5 separate regions of the Homo sapiens genome follow, and regions 2, 3, 4 and 5 are each linked to region 1. The links are contacts of gene promoters, found by promoter capture Hi-C in blood cells and fetal thymus (Javierre and others, 2016). All regions are on one chromosome and are shown on one strand. The core of a region is centred on a gene start or on the middle of the fragment in contact, and the rest is flanking DNA. Distances in the headings are between cores, read along the strand shown. Region 1 holds the start of PTMS (parathymosin). Region 2 overlaps LPCAT3 (lysophosphatidylcholine acyltransferase 3). Region 3 overlaps CHD4 (chromodomain helicase DNA binding protein 4). Region 4 overlaps ATN1 (atrophin 1). Region 5 overlaps LRRC23 (leucine rich repeat containing 23).

Region 1 (2,563 bases), core at 64-2,563:
CTCCCCCCGTTTCACTCCGCGGGCCTCCGGGAGACCTGTGTGACGGCCCCTCAGCAACCACCGCGCCCCCCCCCCCCGCCATACACATACACACACAAGATAGGGCTCCCAGCCCCCAAACCCCGGCCGCGTTAATTTCCCAAAGCGACACTCCGCAGGTTCCCTGGGGAAATTAGAGGAAGGCTGGAAGAGAGGCAAGGGCGAACGGATGGGGCCGGGGAAGGGAGCTGATGAGGGCGAGGACAGCTCGACGCAATGCCATGCAATGCCCAGCCTCGGCTTTTTCGAAGGCTAGTCCTGCCCCGCTTCTAATTTTTAGGAATTCGAGATTCTTTCAGTGTGTATGCGGGAAGGGGACGATGAAGAGAAAAGAAAGCTGAAAGCCAGCTGAGGGGAGGGAACGAGAAAACAGAGGCGGCCGCCGTCCGGGGAGAGAAGCGAGCGACGGTCGGGCCGCGGGGAGGGGCCCGGAGGAGCAGCCTCCAGGGAGAGTCCTGTTTACACTTGAGGATCTCAAACCGCTTAGCGAGGAAAGGTGAGGTCAGGTTGCAAGCAAAGACGCGGCAGCGGGGCGCAGGGAGGGGGCGCGGCAAAGTGAGACTCGGGGCGTTCGGACGGGAAGCCGGACGGGATCCGGTCAGCGAGGTGGGGCCGAAGAGGGGTGGGGACGGCTGCGGGGGACGGCGCGACCGGAGCGGCGAGGCCGGGCGCCGTGGTGCGCGCAGGGCAGCTAGAGGGCGCTGGCGCTAGCCGCGCGGAGCCGGGAAAGGAGCTCCGGGCCGGGGAGCGGTGGGAGGGCGCAGTGGGGTCCGCCAGGACCCGGGCGCAAGGGCCGCGCGGGGCCGTCGGGGGCGGCCTGGGGCGAAGGACCGCGCCGGGCCCCAGGGCTGCGCGAGGTCCGGGCCGCCGCCGCCCCCGCCCGTACCTTGGCGCTCAACTCGGCCGCTGCCTCCACGCTTTTCTCCGACATGGTGCCGGGGCCGGGGCCGGGGCTGGCGGGGAGCCGGGGTCCCGGGGCCGAGACGGAGGGGCCCTGGACGGCGGAGGGTGGCCGCGGCCGGAACCTGGCGCGGTGGCGGCGGCGGCGGCGACAGCGGCAGCGGCGGCCGCTCGGCAAGCTGGGTCTCTGGAAGAGGCGGCAGAGGCGCGCGGGGTGGGGCGGGGGTGGGTCTGGAGCGGAGACCCGCAGGGCTGCGGCCGTCCGGAGGGCGGGCGGAAGGGCGGTGCAGGCGGTGGCCGGCGCGCTCGGCCGCGGTAGCTCGATCCCGGGCTCGCCGCCCCCGCACCAGCAGAGCTGCCGCCGACCAGCCGCTGCCGCCCCCGGGAAGGGAACCCGCTTATAAGGCGGCGCTGCCCGACGGGAGGGGCTTCCCAGGGGTGGGGCAGGCGGGAGCGGGGAGGAGAGGAGAGGGGAGGGGGATGAAAGAGGAGGTTGGAGAGGTGGGGATAGGAGGATGAAAGCGAGGGGAGGGAGAGCTAGGGAGTCGGGAGGGAGGACGAGACCAGGAGGGGGAAATGGAGAGACTGACGGCCGCGGAGAAAGAGTGGGGCGAGGAGGTGGGAAGGGGTGGGGTTCCTGCGGGGAGGCACCTTTCCAAATCCCAACCTACTGCCTGCGAATGTGGAGTCTGGCTTTTGGGGGCGGACTGGAGAGGTGGCCAGAATCCTACTGACCCCAAAAAAAGCCCTGGGATTTTGCCAAGGGGTGGGGTGAGGGGAGCAGATGGGAAGATAGGGCAGGTATTTGAGAAACCAAAAGCTTAAAGAAGAGGAAGAGGGTTCGGGCGCTCCTTCCACACCACGCCGGATTTCCCCCTCTCATCCTCCATCCACATTCTCTGGATGGCCTTGAGGAGGGATGGGAGGGCAGAAAGGGCGGCCCAGCCTTCTGTCCCGCCAGATTGACACTTGTGACCCTTGCCGGGTGCCTCCCTTCCTGGCCCCGTGCTGTGAGCCGGGGGGAGTCAGGCCCCCTGGTCTCCTTTGCTGTCTTCCAGCTCTCTTCCATCTTCTACCTCTCTTATTCGCCCGTCTCACCTCACTTTTATTCGCCTGGTCCTTCTATTTCTCTTCATCCGTCCTCAGTCATCTGTACCTAGACCCCTCCTTCACAACCAATTATAACTCGAATCGCTCCCATTCTTCTCTCACCTCTTCTCCACTCCTCACTGACTCTCTTCTGCCCTTCCACCTCTGGTCTCTTTCCCTATCTTTCCCAGACAACCCTGCTCTTGTCTTATCTGAGTCAGGCACCTGGCCCTCTATTCTTGGCTGGCTTTCCTCAACTCCTCTTTCTGTCCTCATTTTTTACATTTTCCATCCTTCAGCTTTTCTCATTCCTCTGCTGCCATCTTCCCTAGCCTTTCTGGGTTATATTTGCCTCCTTTGCAAATATAATACAGGTCCAGGTCTGGAGTTCCAGCCCCACCCTATTCCACACATCCTCAGCTCCTCGCCCTCAATCTCGGTATCTTTGAGTCATTTTGAAAAGCTTGGGATTTCAGAAGGGAACAGGGGCTGGGTTGTGTATTAAAGGTCAGGAAGGTGGACAGAGTGGAAGGCT
Region 2 (2,563 bases), core at 64-2,563, 240 kb before region 1:
CCTCAGCCTCCCAAAGTGCTGAGATTACAGGCATAAGCCATTGCCCCTGGCCAAGAATTTCTTTTAAATACAATTTTCCAGGTCAGGCACGGTGGCTTACGCCTGTAACCCCAGCACTTTGGGAGGCCAAAGCAAGAGGATCACTTGAGTCCGGGAGTTCAAGACCAGCCTGGGCAACATAGTGATACCTCATCTCTACAAAAAGTGAACAAAATTAACTGGGCTGGGTGGCATATGTCTGTAGTCCCTGCTGCTTGGGAGGCTGAGGTGGAAGGATCACTGGAGCCCGGGGTCCTCCGCTCAACTCAGGACGTTGAGGCTGCATTGAGCCAAGATCATACCTCTACACTCCAGCATGGGCAAAAGAGCAAGATTCTGTCTCAAAAATAAATAAATAAATTTTGTTTTTAATTAGCCAGGCATGATGGCATGCACCTGTAGTCCCAGCTATTCAGGAGACCAAGGTGGGAGGATCATTTGAGCCCAGGAATTTGAGACTGCAGTGAACTATGATGATGCCACTGCATTCCAACCTAGATGACAGAAGGAGACCTCATCTCTAAAAATAAATATATATATTTTTTCCAACCACTTTTTATCTATACCCCAATGTCTTACATTCCATAAAACATCATGTTTTGAATTCCAGTATAACTTTATCGTTAAACATGTTTCTTTGCAGAAGCATGTATAAGTTAGGGTCCACAAGATTATTTGCATAAGCTAATTTACAAAAAAAATTATATAATCACTGACATGAAAGCATGTCTGGGCAGCCATGGGAGCTCATATGAGGCGTCCAGTTCAGTCGCCTTTTAAAAATGATATTTGCATTAGCTGGGCATGGTAGCATGTGTCTGTAGTCCCAGCTACTCAGGGGACTGAAGTGAGAGGATGCACCAGAGCCCCAGAAGTCAAGGCTGCAGTGAGCCATGATCACATCACTGCACCAGCCTGGGCAACAGGAGTGAGGCCTTGTCTCAGTCAGTCAATCAATCAATCAATAATGGTATTTGGTCTTCTGAAAGAAAGTGACATTTTAGCTGGGCCTTAAAGGGGATGGTAAGATTCTAGTAAAGTAGAGATGAAAGCGGAGGAGCTTTCCAGCTACAAAGAGTAATCTGGAGATCAGGAAGAGTAAGACCCTGTCTGTCCCTGAATCTAAGGAAAAAGAAAAAAAAATTTTGAGAAAAATCTGAGGAACAGCAAGTAGTCCTCTTTAACCAGAACAATAGAAGATCGTAAAAGAGCAGTAGAGAAAAACATGATAGGCCTTTTATGTAGGTGGAGGTCAATGACAGAGTAAGGTAGTAACATGTGCATTGTCTTTAGAGATCTTCTGGCCTAGGTTCAAATGCTGGATCAAATAAATATGTACTAGCTGTTTCACCATAAGCTCATTACCAGAGTTCAACCACCCATTTCTTTATATTCCCACAGGCCAATTTTACTAAAGAATTGCAATGAAGAGTTAAGCAATTTATCTGATAAATATTTTTAGATTTATATTTCATTCATAACTAGCAGCAGTATTTTGAAACAGAATACAAAATTTATATGAATTTTTAAAGTAATACAGTCATCAAAGAAATTTTCTATTTCTAGAAGACTGCTTAGGCATACTCTTTTGTGATGTGTTCATTCTCCTTTGGCCTGGAAAAGTTTGAGAACTGTTGCTCATTGGGATGTTGTAAGGACTAAATAAGATAAACTATGTAAACACTTAACCATGCTTGACCCAAGATCATCTTAAATAATTGTTCTTCCCTTCCCTGTCAATAAATATTTATTTTCTCCCTTTCCAAGGAGACACAAAGTATGGTCTTGTGACCAACAGCATCTGTATCTTATGGGAGCCTGTTAGAAATGCAGATTCTTTGGTCTACTCCAAAACTACTGATTGAGAAACTCTGAGGATAGTGCCCAGTAATCTGTTCTAGCAAGCCAGGTTATACTTATTACTCTAGAGTTTGAGGATTACTAATTTAGCATATTTCTTCCGGTGCCTATTTTGTAGTACTTGATGTCCTGATAGTACCTTTTTGGAATGTCATTGGCCAGGCGCGGTGGCTCACGCCTGTAATCCCAGCACTTTGGGAGGCCGAGGCAGGCAGATCACCTGAGGTCAGGAGTTGGAGACTAGCCTGGCCAACATGGTGAAACCCATTTCTATTAAAAAGATAAAAATTAGCTGGGCATGGTGGCACATGCCTGTAGTCCCAGCTACTTGGGAAGCTGAGACAGGATAATCGCTGGAACCCAGGAGGCAGAGGTTGTAGTGAGCCGAGATTGCACCATGGCACTCCAGCCTGGGTGACAGAAAAAAAAAGAAAGGTCATTGTATCCTGTACTCTTTGGAATAAACAAAACTCTTAGATTCCTTATGGTTTAGTTTTTCCCATTTGTAGGCCTGACAGATAGGAAAGTTGGGCCTACAAAAATTGAGTAACTTGCTTAAAGTCACATTCAGTTCTGCCTGACTCCAGAGTTCCTGCTCTGGATGTTATCTGAGGAATAAAGAGATGTTGTTGTTATTATGTTCACATTGTTATTATGTTCACAT
Region 3 (2,563 bases), core at 29-2,528, 180 kb after region 1:
TTCTCCTGCCTCAGCTTCCTGAGTAGCTGGGACTACAGGCGTGTGCCACCATTCCCAGCTAAATTTTTTTTTTTTTTTGAGATGGAGTTTCTTGCTCTGTTGCCCAGGCTAAAGTGCAGTGGTGCAATCTCTGCTCACTGCAACCTCTGCCTACCAGGTTCAAGCGGTTCTCCTGCCTCAGTCTCCTGAGTAGCTGGGATTACAGGTGTATACCACCACGCCTGGCTAATTTTTGTATTTTTAGTAGAGACAGGGTTTCACCGTGTTGGCCAGGCTGGTCTCGAACTCCTGATGTCAAATGATCCACCTGTCTCTGCCTCCCAAAGTGCTGAGATTACAGGCATGAGCCACTGCCCCCGGCTTAATTTTTTAAACTACATTTATGAATTGGAATTTAGGAGACACTTCTAATGGTGTTTTTGGTTCTTTTATTAGCACCGGGTGCTCAGCAGTTCTGCTTCTTGCTTTCCACTCGAGCTGGGGGCCTTGGAATCAATCTGGCCACTGCTGACACAGTTATTATCTATGACTCTGACTGGAACCCCCATAATGACATTCAGGTGAGCAGAGGCAGCAGGCAGCCTTAATAAGTAACATGTTATGCTAGAAAGGCATAGTGGCCTCTATGAGGGCTCCACCATCTGGAATTAGGTTTTTAAGTGAGAAACAACAGATTCTTTTTGTGTTGTTTACCTTATTGTAAGCCAGAGTTTGGTTAGCTGTGATCCTATTTTGGGTAACATGATAATAGAGGGTGGTGTCTGGAGGCAGGGGTGCAAAAGGAAGTTTCCTATGAATGTAGGCTGTGGACCTTGCCTTGTACTGAATTTAGAATATTATGTGGAAGTCAGGATAAGAGTGGCACCAGGAAAATACAATTTCTGGCTTTATTTCCTGTTCAACTCCAGGCCTTTAGCAGAGCTCACCGGATTGGGCAAAATAAAAAGGTAATGATCTACCGGTTTGTGACCCGTGCGTCAGTGGAGGAGCGCATCACGCAGGTGGCAAAGAAGAAAATGATGCTGACGCATCTAGTGGTGCGGCCTGGGCTGGGCTCCAAGACTGGATCTATGTCCAAACAGGAGCTTGATGATATCCTCAAATTTGGCACTGAGGAACTATTCAAGGATGAAGCCACTGATGGAGGTGAGGTAGTCAGGAACTTACGTTTTGGTGTGGGGCTTGGCCTCTCTAAAGGTTAGGGAGAATCTTTGATACCAAGGGTCTTGTGGGACTTGCTTTTTCCACTGCAGCTGCTGAAACTGACTTTGGGGATGTGGGCCCTTGATTTTTTATAGGAGGAGACAACAAAGAGGGAGAAGATAGCAGTGTTATCCACTACGATGATAAGGCCATTGAACGGCTGCTAGACCGTAACCAGGATGAGACTGAAGACACAGAATTGCAGGGCATGAATGAATATTTGAGCTCATTCAAAGTGGCCCAGTATGTGGTACGGGAAGAAGAAATGGGGGTGAGTATGAATCCAAGGCAATCCTGTGCTTGGTAATTGGTCTGAAAATTGGCATTGAGACCAAGGTGGTATTTGAGACAAGTGGAAAATATCTGTAGGCAAATTCTTATGTTGATGAATTGATCCTCTTCCTTTGAAAACAAAGCTGATAACATGACTAATCAGATTTTCATCTTTGCCTTGGTTGTCAGAAAACTTACAACCAAATATCATGCTCACAACAGTTATTTTGGCTCTTTACCAGAATGTCATTTTCTCCTATGTGTTTTATTAAACCTTACAAATGAAATTTTGAATGCTACCTCATCTCTCTAGAGAAAAGGCAGAAGATCCTAGGTAATCTATCTCTTTGTGTTTTCTGGTTTTTATTTAAGAGACAGGGTCTCTACCAGGTGCAGTGGCTCACATCTGTAATCCCAGCACTTTGGGAGGCCGAGGCAGGCAGATCACTTGAGGCCAGGAGTTTGAGACCAGCCCGGCCAACACGGTGAAACCCCGTTTCTACTAAAAATAAAAAAATTAGCCAGGCACGATGAAGCACACCTGTAGTCCCAGGTGTTCGGGAGGCTGAGGCAGGAGAATTGCTTGAACCCAGGAGGCGGAGGTTGCAATGAGCTGAGATTGCGCCACTGCATTCCAGCCTGATGACAGAGCCAGACTGTGTTTGAAAAAAAAAAACAACAAAAAAAGAGACAGGGTCTTGCTCTGTCACCCAGGCTAGAGTGCAGTGGCACAATCATAGCTGAGTGCAACCTTAAACTCTTGGGCTGAAGAGTGACCCTAGTAGATGTGTGCTACCACACCTGGTTAATTTTTTAAATGTTTTTAGAGATGTCTTGCTATGTTGCCCAGGATGGTCTTGAACTCCTGGCCTTAAGCAGTTCTCCTGCCTTGACCTCCCAAAGTGCTGGAATTACAGGTGTTAGCCACCACACCAGGCCTCCTTGTGTATGTATGTATGTATGTATTTATTTATTTATTTTGAGATGGAATCTCACTCTCTCCCCCAGGCTGGAGTGCAGTGGTGCGATCTTGGCTCACTGCAAGCTCTGCCTCCCGGGTTCATGCCATTCTTCTGCCTCAGCCTCC
Region 4 (2,563 bases), core at 46-2,545, 170 kb before region 1:
CTTCTATACTTTGCTGTATTCTCCTCAGAAGTTGCTGGGGAGAATTCTCAGAAGGCCTAGATCAGTCACAGAGATATGAAAAGAATCTTTTCTCACATCAGAGTAGGTAGAAGAAGAATGTCCCATTCTATAATACAAAGGAACACAGCCCTACCAATCCCAAGACTAAACCTAGGTAGCCCCAAATTGTAGAACTTCATTTTTGAGAGCCCCATAAAGGACCCATTCTCTAGTACTTGAGCTCCCTAAGGCTAGAGGAAAAGTCAGGGTTTTCACATGAATGATTAAAGACTCAAAATATCCGTGAGCAAACAACACAGATGTACCAGTTTTTAAGCCTATCCTCCTACTTGGTGTAGACTGGGTTACACAGTTTCTCACAGCCAATCCATCCGTATCTGTCTATCAGCAGGTATCTATCTTTATCCAAATCCCTATAGCCAGCTGTATTCATTTGCACTTGTTTGTATTTCTTGCTAAGTGTCAAGTCCCTCCAAATTACTGATTGTAAGATCTTTTGAGAGCAAAAATGGTATTTTCTTACTGTTTTCTTCCTTTCCACTGATGTGTGTGCGCTCTTCTTGTGATTGACCTTTAAACCCACTAACATCAGTAGGTCTTTCTTCCTGAATTAAGTGCTGCTAGCTCCAGTGGGAACAGACTAAGCTTACCCATGTATTCTATTCTGAGTTGGAGGCCTGCTAGGTAAACGGCATGTCCATATTCTGTAGTGTATTTTTTCCCAAGAAACACAGTAATTCTCACTCACCTCCACGGAACCATACTGATGCAGGCAGTAAGGGGTGAGTCTAACCTTTCCAGGAAACTTCACAATTTACTTAGAATCACAAAATTGCTGGGACAGAGCCTATCTTCTGAACTTTCAACTGATGCTCTGCCCAGTAGACTTGTCTTTTTTTTTTTTTTTTTTTTTTTTTTTGAGACAGAGTTTCACTCTTGTTGCCCAGGCTGGAGTGCAGTGGCGTGATCTCACTCACTGCAACCTCTGCCTCCCAGGTTCAAGCGATTCTCCTGCCTCAGCCTCCTGAATAGCTGGGATTACAGGCATGCACCACCACACCCGGCTAATTTTTTGTATTTTTAGTAGAGACAGGGTTTCACCATGTTAGTCAGGGTGGTCTCGAACTACTGACCTCAGGTGATCTGCCTGCCTCGGCCTTCCCAAGTGCTGGGATTACAGGCGTGAGCCACTGTGCCCGGCCAACTAGTTTTCTTTTTTTTTCCTTTTTTTTTTTTTTGAGATGGATCTTTGCTCTTGTTCCCCAGGCTGGAGGTGCTATGGCATGATCTCAGCTCACTGCCACCTCCGCCTCCCAGGTTCAAGCGATTCTCCTGCCTCAGCCTCCCAAGTAGCTGGGATTACAAGCGCACACCACCACACCTGGCTAATTTTTGTATTTTTAGTAGAGACGGAGTTTCACCATGTTGACCAGGCTGGTCTCGAACTCCTGACCTCAGATGATCCACCTGCCTCAGCCTCCTAAAGTGTTGGGATTACAGGCGTGAGCCACCATGCCCGGCCTTTTTTTTTTTTTTTTTTTTTTCAACTACAGCTATTTTCCCACATTTTTTAGTTGTTATGTAGACTGGTTTTAAAATACTATCAACCAAAAAAAAAAAAAAATCCGAAGAACAACACCCACCATAGCAAAAGAGGAAAACAATCTTAAACAAAAAGCACAACAAAGATGACTATTTGTGATTGGTGTATTTTTGCCAGCCCTCCTAGAGAAGGGTGTCCATCTCCCTTCCCCATCACAGAACCTGTTCACCAAGTCAGTTAGGTTAGGGGATCCAAAAGGTCAGAGAAACACAGGAATGTACCTGAGGAACACAGCAATCATAGTATGCCCTTCTTTTTTAATCACCTGAAATCTGATAAAAACTAGCAATGAGAAGCTTTGAAGGAGAAAAGCAGTCATAAAAGAACAAGTAATCCTGGGGATAAGGAGTGGCAGACGAGGAAAGGAGTTAGGGGTGGATTGTGTGTCTTTCTAGACCTGGGTCATGTTTTAGCACCAGCCTACACTCCTAGCAGGCAATCACTGTAACTAATATTACAGAGCACCTACTCTGTATCTGGCCACATACTAAGCACATTCACCTTCATTACCTTGCTTTATTTTATTTATTTATTTATTTATTTATTTATTGAGACGGAGTCTCACTCTGTCACCCAGGCTGGAGTGCCGTGCCGCGATCTCGGCTCGGCTCACTGCAAGCTCCACCTCCCGGGTTCACGCCATTCTCCTGCCTCAGCCTCCTGAGTAGCTGGGACTACAGGCGCCCGCCACCACGCCCGGCTAATTTTTTTGTATTTTTACTAGAGACGGGGTTTCACCGTGTTAGCCAGGATGGTCTCAATCGCCTGACCTCGTGATCCGCCCGCCTCAGCCTCCCAAAGTGCTGGGATTACAGGCGTGAGCCACTGCGCACTGCCATTACCTTACTTTAAAAAGAAAATGATTAAGACCAGACTGGGTTGGGAGGAAAGTGAGAACTAGAAAAAGAGCCCCTAAGTAAGAACAGGAAAAGAAATTAA
Region 5 (2,563 bases), core at 37-2,536, 140 kb before region 1:
CTCACCTTAGCTTCCTAAGTACCTCCAGGCATGTGCCACCACACCTGGCTAATGTTTAAATTTTTTGTAGAGACTGGGTCTCACTATGTTGCCCAGGTTTGTCTTGAACGCCTGGCCTCAAGCAGTCCTCTTGCCTTGGCCCCCCCAAAGTGCTGGGATTACAGGCGTGAGCCACCATGCCTGGAATTTTATTTATTTTCATGTTCTGGCTTTAAGCTTTTATGAAATCTATTTAAGTGTTTCAGCCTGATCTCATGGTCGTGCTGAGCCTCATGCAGTGTTTCTCACCAGGAGGGCTACAGGAACTTTGTACTGGACTCTGCCATACATTGTTGGATGCTTAGCATCTCTGGCCCCAGAGGCACCTGCCAATCATTGAGACACCCTCACCCCCCTCCACACACACACCCGACTTACTCTCAAAACATCCCCATTTAATAGCCACTCAGGAAGGGTCCATCATGCCTGTCTAGATCATTAACAGGAAGATGGCACAGATACACACCCCACCAGATCCGTGTGGCAGAGTTCATGAATAAGAGAATGCCCAGGGGGTCAGGATGAGAGTTGGGGCTTCCAGATGCAACCACCTCTCCCTACTTGGAGATGCTCTTTCCATTACCAGCTCAAGAATCTGGTCTTGTTGACTAAGGAAAGAGGCAGTTTCCTTACATGTTTGCTGAAATAAACACACATAAAGTCCTCCATCCGACAAGAGTTGCTGATCTTCAGTGCCTTTCTACCAAAAGATTTTCTTACAAATGTCCTTCTCTCCTCAAATCTGAGCACATCTTGTGTTTTTTTAATCAGTAAAAAGGTCATCCCTTACAGGTGGGGCTCAGGAGAAGAGAGGCAGGAAATGGGAAGGTGAATTGGGACCGAGGAAATGGAGAAGGGCAGTGGAAACTTATATAGGATAGGGTGAGGAAAAAAGAGTTGGAGCCAGACTGTGAGCCCCTTAGGAACAGGAATCACCTCTGATTCCTTTCTTTCTTTTAGAGACAGCTCACTCTGTCACCCAGGCTGGAGTGCAGTGGCACAATCATGGCTCACTGCAACCTTGAACTCCTGGGCTCAAGTGATCCTCCAACCTCAGCCTCCTGAGTAGCTGAAACCACAGGTGTGCACCACCAGGCTCAGTTAATTTTTATTTTTAATTTAATATTTTAATTTTTATTTAATATTTTATTTTTGTTTTGTTTTTGAGGCAGGGTCTGGCTCTGTCACCCAGGCTGGAGTGCAGCGGCTTTATCTCAGCTCACTGCAAACTCCACCTCGAGGCTCCAGCGATCCTCCCGCCTAAGTCTCCTGAGTAGCTGGGATTACAGGTGCCTGTCACCATGCCTGGCTAATTTTTGTATTTTTGGTAGAGATGGGATTTTGCCATGTTGCCCAGACTGGTCTTGAACTCCTAGGCTCCAACGATCTGCCCACTTCGGCTTCCCAAAGTGCTAGAACTACAGGTGTGAGCCACCATGCCGGGCCATTATTTTCACTTCTGTAGAAACATGGTCTCACTAGGTTGCCCAGGCTGGTCCTGAACTCCTGGCCTCAAGTGATCCTTCCTCCTAAAGTGCTGGGAGTACAGGCATGAACCACCATGCCCAGCCTCTGATTGCTTTAAATGTCCCCAAAACACAGCACAAGGCCTGGCACATAGCACATTCTCAATAATTGTGGATTGAATGAATAAAAATTCAGGGGTCACAAGCTATAAGGGATTTAGTGTTGCAACTCAGTGCAGAAGAAAGGAAGGAAAGCCGGGCTTTCCTTGAGAATCCAGCTGTGGGCTAGGACTGGGGGATTGGGCCAGGGAAGAACACAGACTCAAAAGCTGCACCTGGTCAGGGGTAGGGGCAAGGTGGGGCTTGGAGAGGGTGCATACCTCAGGTTGAGGTACTGCAATGATTTCATTTCTCTGGAGAAGCCACTCAGGGTGTCAATCTGGTTGTCTCGAAGATGCAAGGTGGTGAGATTGCTCAGATCCTCCAAGCCTTCCACCTTCTTCAGCATGTTTTGGGCCTAGACCCCCAGGGCACAGTGGATTGATTGAGAGGGAGCAGGGATAGGGAAGAAAGAGAAGTCAGAATGAGATAAAGCAAAAGAGGAAATCCAAGAGGTAGAGAGGGAGGAGTGGAAGAAAGGAGTGGGGGTGAGTAGAGATCAGTATAGAAAGTAAAGAAGTTCAGGAGAAGCTGCCATCCCAGAGAAAGGTCAGCAGTAACCCTCTACCATTCGCCCCATCAAAGCCACTTGGGATGGAGGAGATGCTTCAACCCACCCCTACCCGGCCCAGGAGCCCCCAGGCCACCACTGAGGATTGGCATCAGCACCATCCCAGAATAACGAAGCTTAAGAGTCTAAAAGACTAAATATTTCAGTGGCTTCCTGTGGAGTTATTATATATATAATATATAATATATTATATAATATATAAAATATATATTATATATTATATATTATATACTATTATATATAATATTTATATATTATATATAATATACTATTATATATAATATTTATATATTATATAAAATATATTATATATAATATACTATTATAT

The links. The method cuts DNA at HindIII sites, captures the fragments that hold promoters and counts their contacts. A CHiCAGO score of 5 or more calls a contact.
Region 2: a contact is called between a fragment that was not itself captured here and the fragment with the promoter of PTMS in region 1, in 1 of 17 cell types (non-activated CD4 T cells). The highest score is 5.2, in non-activated CD4 T cells.
Region 3: a fragment that was not itself captured here is called in contact with the fragment with the promoter of PTMS in region 1 in 9 of 17 cell types (total CD4 T cells, naive CD4 T cells, activated CD4 T cells and 6 more); the score reaches 10.3 in total CD4 T cells.
Region 4: a contact is called between a fragment that was not itself captured here and the fragment with the promoter of PTMS in region 1, in 4 of 17 cell types (activated CD4 T cells, non-activated CD4 T cells, naive CD4 T cells and 1 more). The highest score is 7.3, in activated CD4 T cells.
Region 5: a fragment that was not itself captured here is called in contact with the fragment with the promoter of PTMS in region 1 in 2 of 17 cell types (activated CD4 T cells and non-activated CD4 T cells); the score reaches 6.2 in activated CD4 T cells.

The regions. Positions count from the first base shown.
Region 1 is chr12:6,765,113-6,767,675 of GRCh38, reverse strand. It overlaps PTMS (parathymosin), which reads right to left and starts at 1,313. Exons shown (of 5, transcript NM_002824.6): 1 at 926-1,313. The coding sequence starts at 970. RefSeq lists silencers at 509-1,008, 1,119-1,448. The HindIII fragment of the contact is 8,838 bases long and covers 1-1,761 here.
Region 2 is chr12:7,008,853-7,011,415 of GRCh38, reverse strand. All of the region lies in intron 1 of LPCAT3 (lysophosphatidylcholine acyltransferase 3), which reads left to right. Among named protein-coding and RNA genes, the nearest start is that of LPCAT3, 8.3 kb to the left of the region's middle. The HindIII fragment of the contact is 3,708 bases long and covers 1-2,563 here.
Region 3 is chr12:6,586,295-6,588,857 of GRCh38, reverse strand. CHD4 (chromodomain helicase DNA binding protein 4) reads left to right here. Exons shown (of 40, transcript NM_001273.5): 23 at 436-560; 24 at 909-1,146; 25 at 1,299-1,474. Among named protein-coding and RNA genes, the nearest start is that of CHD4-AS1, 19 kb to the right of the region's middle. The HindIII fragment of the contact is 7,516 bases long and covers 1-2,563 here.
Region 4 is chr12:6,930,412-6,932,974 of GRCh38, reverse strand. The region is part of intron 1 of ATN1 (atrophin 1); the gene reads right to left. Among named protein-coding and RNA genes, the nearest start is that of ATN1, 3.7 kb to the right of the region's middle. The HindIII fragment of the contact is 1,254 bases long and covers 669-1,922 here.
Region 5 is chr12:6,909,349-6,911,911 of GRCh38, reverse strand. LRRC23 (leucine rich repeat containing 23) reads right to left here. Exons shown (of 8, transcript NM_001135217.2): 6 at 1,886-2,022. Among named protein-coding and RNA genes, the nearest start is that of ENO2, 4.0 kb to the left of the region's middle. The HindIII fragment of the contact is 2,135 bases long and covers 219-2,353 here.